Linked DNA regions of Homo sapiens: region 2 is linked to region 1. The links are contacts of gene promoters, found by promoter capture Hi-C in human tissues and cell types (Jung and others, 2019). All regions are on one chromosome and are shown on one strand. Each heading gives the region's core, a stretch centred on a gene start or on the middle of the fragment in contact. The rest is flanking DNA. Distances are from core to core; before and after follow the strand shown. Region 1 holds the start of ALDH1L2 (aldehyde dehydrogenase 1 family member L2). Region 2 overlaps SLC41A2 (solute carrier family 41 member 2).

The links. Contacts are between HindIII fragments. The study calls those that stand out against the background at their distance.
Region 2: a contact is called between a fragment that was not itself captured here and the fragment with the promoter of ALDH1L2 in region 1, in 5 of the 25 tissues and cell types used here (heart left ventricle, lymphoblastoid cells, mesenchymal stem cells and 2 more).

What each region holds. Positions count from the first base shown.
Region 1 is chr12:105,082,783-105,086,031 of GRCh38, forward strand. ALDH1L2 (aldehyde dehydrogenase 1 family member L2) reads right to left here and starts at 1,676. Exons shown (of 23, transcript NM_001034173.4): 1 at 1,607-1,676. The coding sequence starts at 1,654. RefSeq lists enhancers at 519-1,319, 814-1,053 and a silencer at 1,554-1,983. The HindIII fragment of the contact is 4,053 bases long and covers 1-3,249 here.
Region 2 is chr12:104,872,555-104,876,049 of GRCh38, forward strand. All of the region lies in intron 6 of SLC41A2 (solute carrier family 41 member 2), which reads right to left. Among named protein-coding and RNA genes, the nearest start is that of SLC41A2, 84 kb to the right of the region's middle. The HindIII fragment of the contact is 5,392 bases long and covers 1-3,495 here.

The DNA.
Region 1 (3,249 bases), core at 426-2,925:
TTTTCCAAAGTGGCTGTACCATTTTATATTTCCACCAGCCATGTATCTGTTTGATTTTGAATAATTCTTATAAAACACAGTCCAGAACATTTTCTACAGGATAAAACATCCCACATTTTTCATTCACCACTCAGTAGCTTCCTTTCGACCACTGAGGAAACTGTCTTCTTCCCAGCCATGAGTATCACTGCTTTTCCATATGCACCCCTGCGTACAGTTAGACCCTGATCACGCCAGTTCTTCCCCACATCCATAGTTTTGTTTATGCCATTTGCCACCTGAGATGTTTACCTTTTATTACTGAAATCTTATGCAAACCGCACTATCAAAATCTTTTCATTCTGCAAGACTTCCTTCTGGTCACCAAAAAAGACAAGTCAGTGAAAGGTGTTGACAGAGGAGGCCAACAAAACAGGCTCAGGCATTGGGCACAGCCCGTTGCTTTCTGTGCTATCCATCTGGGATCCCATGTGCCACGTGGTGGGGGAAGCTAATGAGGGGTCCAGGAGAGCAGGCCAAAGTCCTAGCAGAGCAGGTCTTCCCCACCCCCACCCCTCGTTTTATAAAAGGTGACTATACCTCAAAGTAACTAGAACTGGTTGCAAAGAGTAAAACGAATTCTTATTATTTGGGGTTGTCTGGGATACAGAAAGCTTTTCCTTTGATGCAAGTTTGGGCCAGTTTTTGGTGCTACTCAAGACTTCTCTCTGCCTCCAAGTTTTTTACATCTGAATATATACATATGTACATATGGCTTTGGCATGGCCGAGAAAAAGAATCGATAAGCAAATTCTTTTATGTACTTCCTATAAAAGATACGATACATAAGACAGTTTTTATTTTTTTTTTTTCTCTCTCTCTCTTCCCTAAACAGTCCCGAGGCCCCCTGGGTGCTGAAGGCAGCACCGCAGTGCAACGTGTCCTCTCTCGGTTCCATTTCTGGAGGAGCTGATGCAATTCCAAGGCGCGGGGCTGGGCCAGAGCTCGGTTCTTGTGCTACAGTAGAATAGTGTTCCAGCGTGGCTGCCTCTGCAGCGCCTGGCAATTCTAGAAATTTTGCCATCTGCAGCTCAGCTCAGGAATACTGAGCTTGCAGCCATCAGCTTTGAGTGCCATTATCTGAACCGGCCCTGCGTGCCAGTCTCGAGCGCTTACACCTCCCAGGCCGCCAACGAGGACCCTATTGACTTGATACTCCCCTCCTCCAGGAGACAGTCTCGGTTCCATATGGCTCCAGCTCTTGACCAGGGATCTCATGATTGAAGTGAAAAAGGAAAGGAAGCAGACTCTGTCCTCCTTACCAAGTGACTGTTCCCACCTTGCCATCCCAGCCAGACTTGACACGTCCAAAAACTGCATCCTCAGCCCCCTCCCGGCAGAAGACAATGGCCTGCGTGCCAGTTCCCATCCGGGACCCTCCCCAAGCCCTCCTCTGAGGTCTCTCTGTTTTTGTTTGTTTGTTTGTTTGTTTTAAACGCTGTCTTGGTGTTTAGCAAAGTCTAAGCATCGCTGCTCATCCCCAGCCCCACCGCCCCGGCCCTCCCGCCCCGGAGTCTGGAAACCAGGACAGGGTGACAGCCGGGACGCTCGCCCGGGCCGGACTCACCCGGCCAGTGGAGAAGCGCCGGAGCGCCTGGCTGCCCCGCCGCAGCATGCTGGAGAGGAGCGCTAGCACTGGCGACGCGGCAGCGCGGGAGGCAGGCGGGCGGCGCAGCCTGGGCGCGGCCTGGGCGCGGCCTGCAGTCTGGATGCCCCGGACTGCCTGGCTCGCGGCTCGCCGCTCTCGGCCTCTGCTAGTCCGCACCCCTCCCAAAGCCCACAGCCCGCGGCCCGCCCCACCCTACCAGCTGCAAGGCCCCGCCCCCTAGCTGTCAAGACCCCGCCCCCAGCTGGAAGGCCCCGCCCCGCCAGCTGGCTGCGTTCGGACAGCCAACCTGGTGCGACCCGGCGGAGCGCGTGGGCTTCCTGGAGCCTGTGGGCCCTGACCCTGGTGCCAAGAGCGCACCCAGTCCCAGGGACCGCGCCTCTCCGCTGCCTGGACTTTCCGCCAATTCCAGCCAAGGTCCAGGTGCTTTCTAACTGTGGGACCCTCTACCAGTTACTCAGCCCCGCAGCAGTGTATACGGATCTACCTTATTAGTGGTCAATCTGACATCCCAAGTGCTGTCCATAGCACAGCCCGTAAAAGGCACGCCTGTAGACAGATAGGTAGTGGGGGCGCCTTCGCTGTGGAGGGATCCTGATGCCTACCTCGTAGGACGGTAGGCCGGGCGCGGTGGCTCCCGCCTGTAATCCCAGCACTTTGGGAGGCCGAGGAGGGAAGATGGCCTGAGCTCAGGAGTTCGAGACCAGCCTGGCCACCATGGTGAAACCCCGTCTCTACTAAAAATAAAAAATAATAAAATAATAAAATAATTAGCCGGGCGTGATGTCGCATGCCTGCAGTCCCAGCTACTCGGGAGGCTGAAGCACGAGGATCACTTGAGCCGGGGAGGCGGAGGTTGCAGTGGAGCTGAGATCATGCCACTGCACTTCAGCCTGGACAACAGAGCGAGACTCTGTCTTAAAAATAAATAAATAAATTGGTGCAAAAGTAATTGTGGTTTTTGCCACTGAAAATAATGGCAAACCCGCAATTACTTTTGCATCAACCTAATAGATACGTGCCCTTCTCCCTCACCTCTCTGGAAAAAACGCTCAGACCTGCTTTAGCTGGACGTTTATCTCAAGCCAGACTTCTTAGCCCAGCATTCAGGGCCGTCTGCAATTTGCCATTTTCTCTTATTTCTCACTGCTCTTTTGCATATGTAATTCTGCTTGACTGCAGTTCTTGCCTATTCCTTCTTGGACAATGTTTCCCAGAAAAGCTTGTCATCTGTCACTTGTAATTATCTTGGCACGACCGTTTCTTTTCTGAAAGGTACCGCTTACATGCTGCCTCCTGGAGGCGCTTTTTTCTGATTCTTTTCTCTCTTAGTCTCCTTATTCCCCATAAATAATTGTTCACTCCTCTTAACAGGAAATAATCTTTGTCTATGCATCTGTTATGGCTGTCTCAATCTGCTACTGGTATTTGTATACCTATTAACGTCTCTGTTGGAAGCTCCTTGCAAGCTAAGTCCATGTCTGATTAATCAGGATTTACAGTATCTAGCACTAACCAGAGCTTTAAAAAAATAATAATAAAATAAAAAATAACTTGTTAAAAAAAAACTTGTTGAAACGGATGAATGTGTTTAAGAGAGTAAG
Region 2 (3,495 bases), core at 915-3,414, 210 kb before region 1:
AAAATCCCGTCTCTACTAAAATACAAAAATTAGCCAGGTGTGGTGGTAGGTGCCTGTAATCCCAGATACTTGGGAGGCTGAGGCAGAACTGCTTGAGCCTGGGAGGCGGAGGTTGCAGTGAGCCGAGATCACACCACTGCACTCCAGCCTGGGCGACAGTCGAGCAAGACTCTGTCTCCAAAAGAAAAAAAAGAAAAGTAGCACACATTGAATTCCATGGATGCAGAGAGCCTTAGTACATGTATGAAAGCTAACAGCACATGAGGGGGTATTCAGTCATTTCAGAATACTCAGAATTCTAAGTAGTTGAATAAGACTTTTTTCTTTTTTTGATACATACTTAAGGTGTACAACTTGGTGTTTTCATAGACATATTACAGTTACATGGTTAGATATATAGTTAAGTGGTTACTACAGTCCAGTGATTTAACATCCATCATCTCAGATATTTAACCTCTTTCCACTTTTTTGTGGTAATTACATCTAAAGTCTACTGTCTTGGCAAACTTCTAGTTATAACTATAGTCCTCATGTTGTACATTCATTGGATCTCTAGATTTTTTTCATCCTACATAACTGCAACTTTGTAGTCTTTGATCTACATCTCCCCATTTCCTGCCTCACCTCCACCCCTAACCCCCATCCCCCGTAACTACCATTCTACTCTTCGTTCCTATGTATCTGACATATTTTTAAAGATTCTCTATATAAAGTGAGATCATGCAGTATTTTTACTTCTGTGTCTGGCTTATTTCACTTGACATATAATGTCTTCCAGGTTCATTCATGTTGTTGCAAATGGCGGATTCTCCTTTTTTAAGACCGAACAATATTACATTGTATATATACTACAATTTTATTATTTACTCATCCATCAGGAACATTTAGGTTGTTTCCATATCTAGACAACCGTAAATAATGCTGCAATGGACATGGGAGTGCAAATATCTCTGTGAAGGGCTGATTTCATTTCCTTTGGATACATACCCAAAAGGGAGATTGCTGAGTCATGCAGTCATTCTATTTTTAATTTTTTGAGGAACCTCCATACTGTTTTCCATAAAACTGCACCAATTTACATTTCTACCAAGAGTGTACAAGGATTCCCCTTTCTCCACATCCTTGCCAACACTTGTTATCTTTCATCTTATTGGTAATAGCCATTATAACAGATGTGAAATGATATCTCATTTCAGTTTTGGTTTGCTTTTCTCTGATGATTAGTGACATTGAGTACCTTTTCATATACTTGTTCGTCATTTTTATGTGCTCTTGGGGGAAATGTCTACTCAGGTCCTTTGCCCAGTTTTAAATTGGGTTATGTGTTTTTTATTGAGTTATGTGAGCTCCTTATATATTTTGGATATTGACTCCTTATCAAACATATGGTTCACAAATATCTTCTCCCAATCCATAGGATGCCTTTTCCTTTTCACTTTGTGGATTGTTTCTTTTGCTGTGTAGAAACTTTTAAATTTGGCGTAGTCTCACTTATTTTTACTTTTGTTGCCTGAGTTTGTTTTTTTTTTTTTTTTTTGAGACAGAGTCTTGCTCAGTTGCCCAGGCTAGAGTGCAGTGGCGCAATCTTGGCTCACTGCAAGCTCTGCCTCCCGGGTTCACACCATTCTCCTGCCTCAGCCTCCCGAGTAGCTGGGACTACAGGCGCCTGCCACCCTGCCCGGGTAATTTTTTTGTATTTTTAGTAAAGATGGGTTTTCACCGTGTTAGCCAGGATGGTCTCCATCTCCTGACCTCGTGATCCACCCGCCTCGGCCTCCCAAAGTCCTGCGATTACAGGCGTGAGCCATCACGCCCAGCCAAATGCTGCCCGATTTTTTGATGTGATATCCAAAAAATCATTGCCAAAGTCAATGTCAAGGAGCTTTTCTCCTATGTTTTCTACTAGGAGTTACATGGCTTCAGGCGTTATGTTTAGGTCTTTAATCTATTTTTAGTTGTGTAAGATAACTATCTTTGTGTATGTGTAAGATAAAGGTCTAGTTTCATTCTTTTGCATGTGGATATCCATTCTCCCAACACCATTTATTGAAGAGACTATTCTTTCCCAATTGTGTCTTCTTGGTGCCCTTGTTAAAAATTATTTGACTGTATATACTTGGGTTTACTTCTGGGCTCTCTATCCTGTTCCACTGTCTGTTCCCATGCCAGTACTATACTGCTTTGATTACTATAGCTTTGTGACATAATTTGAAATCAGGAAGTGTGATGCCTCCAACTTTGTTTTTCCTAAAATTGCTTTGGCTATTCAGGGTCTTTTGTGGTTTCATATGAATTTTAGAATTCTTTTTTCTATTTCTGTGAAGAATGCCATTGAAATTTTGATAGGAATTGCACTGAACCTGTATATTGCTTTGGGTAGTATGGATGATACTAATTCTTCCAATCCATAAACATGGAATACCTTTCCATTTATTTGTGTCTTCTTCAATTTATTTCATTAATGTTTAATCATTTTTATTGTAGAGATATTTCACCTCCTTTGTTAAAGTTATTTCTAGATATTTTATTTAACACAGTGTGCTATATTACACTGATTGATCTGTGTATGTTAAACCATACTTGCATCCCTGGGATGAATCCCACTTGGTCATGATGTATAATATTCTTTATGTATTGTTGAATTCAGTTTGCTAGTATTTTATTGAAGATTTTTGCAGCTGTGTTCATCAGAAATATTAGCCTATAGTTTTCATTTATTTTGTTGTCGTTGTTGTTTAGGTCATTTTTGTCTTTGCTTTTGTTTTAGAGATGGGGTCTCACTATGTTGCCCAGGCAGGACTCCAACTCCCAGGCTCAAGTGATCCTCTCACCTCAGCCTCCAGAGTAGCTGGAACTACTGGTATGTGCCACCACACCTCACTAGTTTTGTTTTCTTGTGGTGTCTTTGTCTGGAAAATTGGTATCAGGTGATGGTGACCTTATAAAATGAGTCTGGGCTGGGTGCAGTGGCTCACACCTGTAATCCCAGTAACTCAGGAGGCTGAGGCAGAAGGACTGTTTGAGACTATGAGTTTGACACCAGACTAGACAACATAGTGAGACCCTGTCTCCAACAAAATATTTAAAAATTAGCCAGGCATGGTTATATGCACTTGTAGTTCCTGATACTTGGGAGGCTGAGGTGGGAGGACTGCTTGAGCCAAGGAGTTCAAGGCTGCAGTGAGCTATAATCATGCCACTGCACTCCAGCTTGGGTAACAGAGCAAGACCCCCATCTCTGAAAATAAAACTAAAAATAAAAATAAATGAGTTTGGAAGTATTTCCTCTAGTTCTATGTTTTTGGAAGATAAGGATTGGTACTATTTGAATGTTTGGTAGAATTCAGCCATGAAGCCATTTGGTTCTGGGCTTTTCTTTGTTGGGAGGATTTTAATTACTACTTTAATAACTATTTGTTATTGGTCTGTTCAGGCTTTCTATTTGTTCCTCATTCAATTCTGGCAGGTATATGTTTCTAAGAATTTATCCATTTC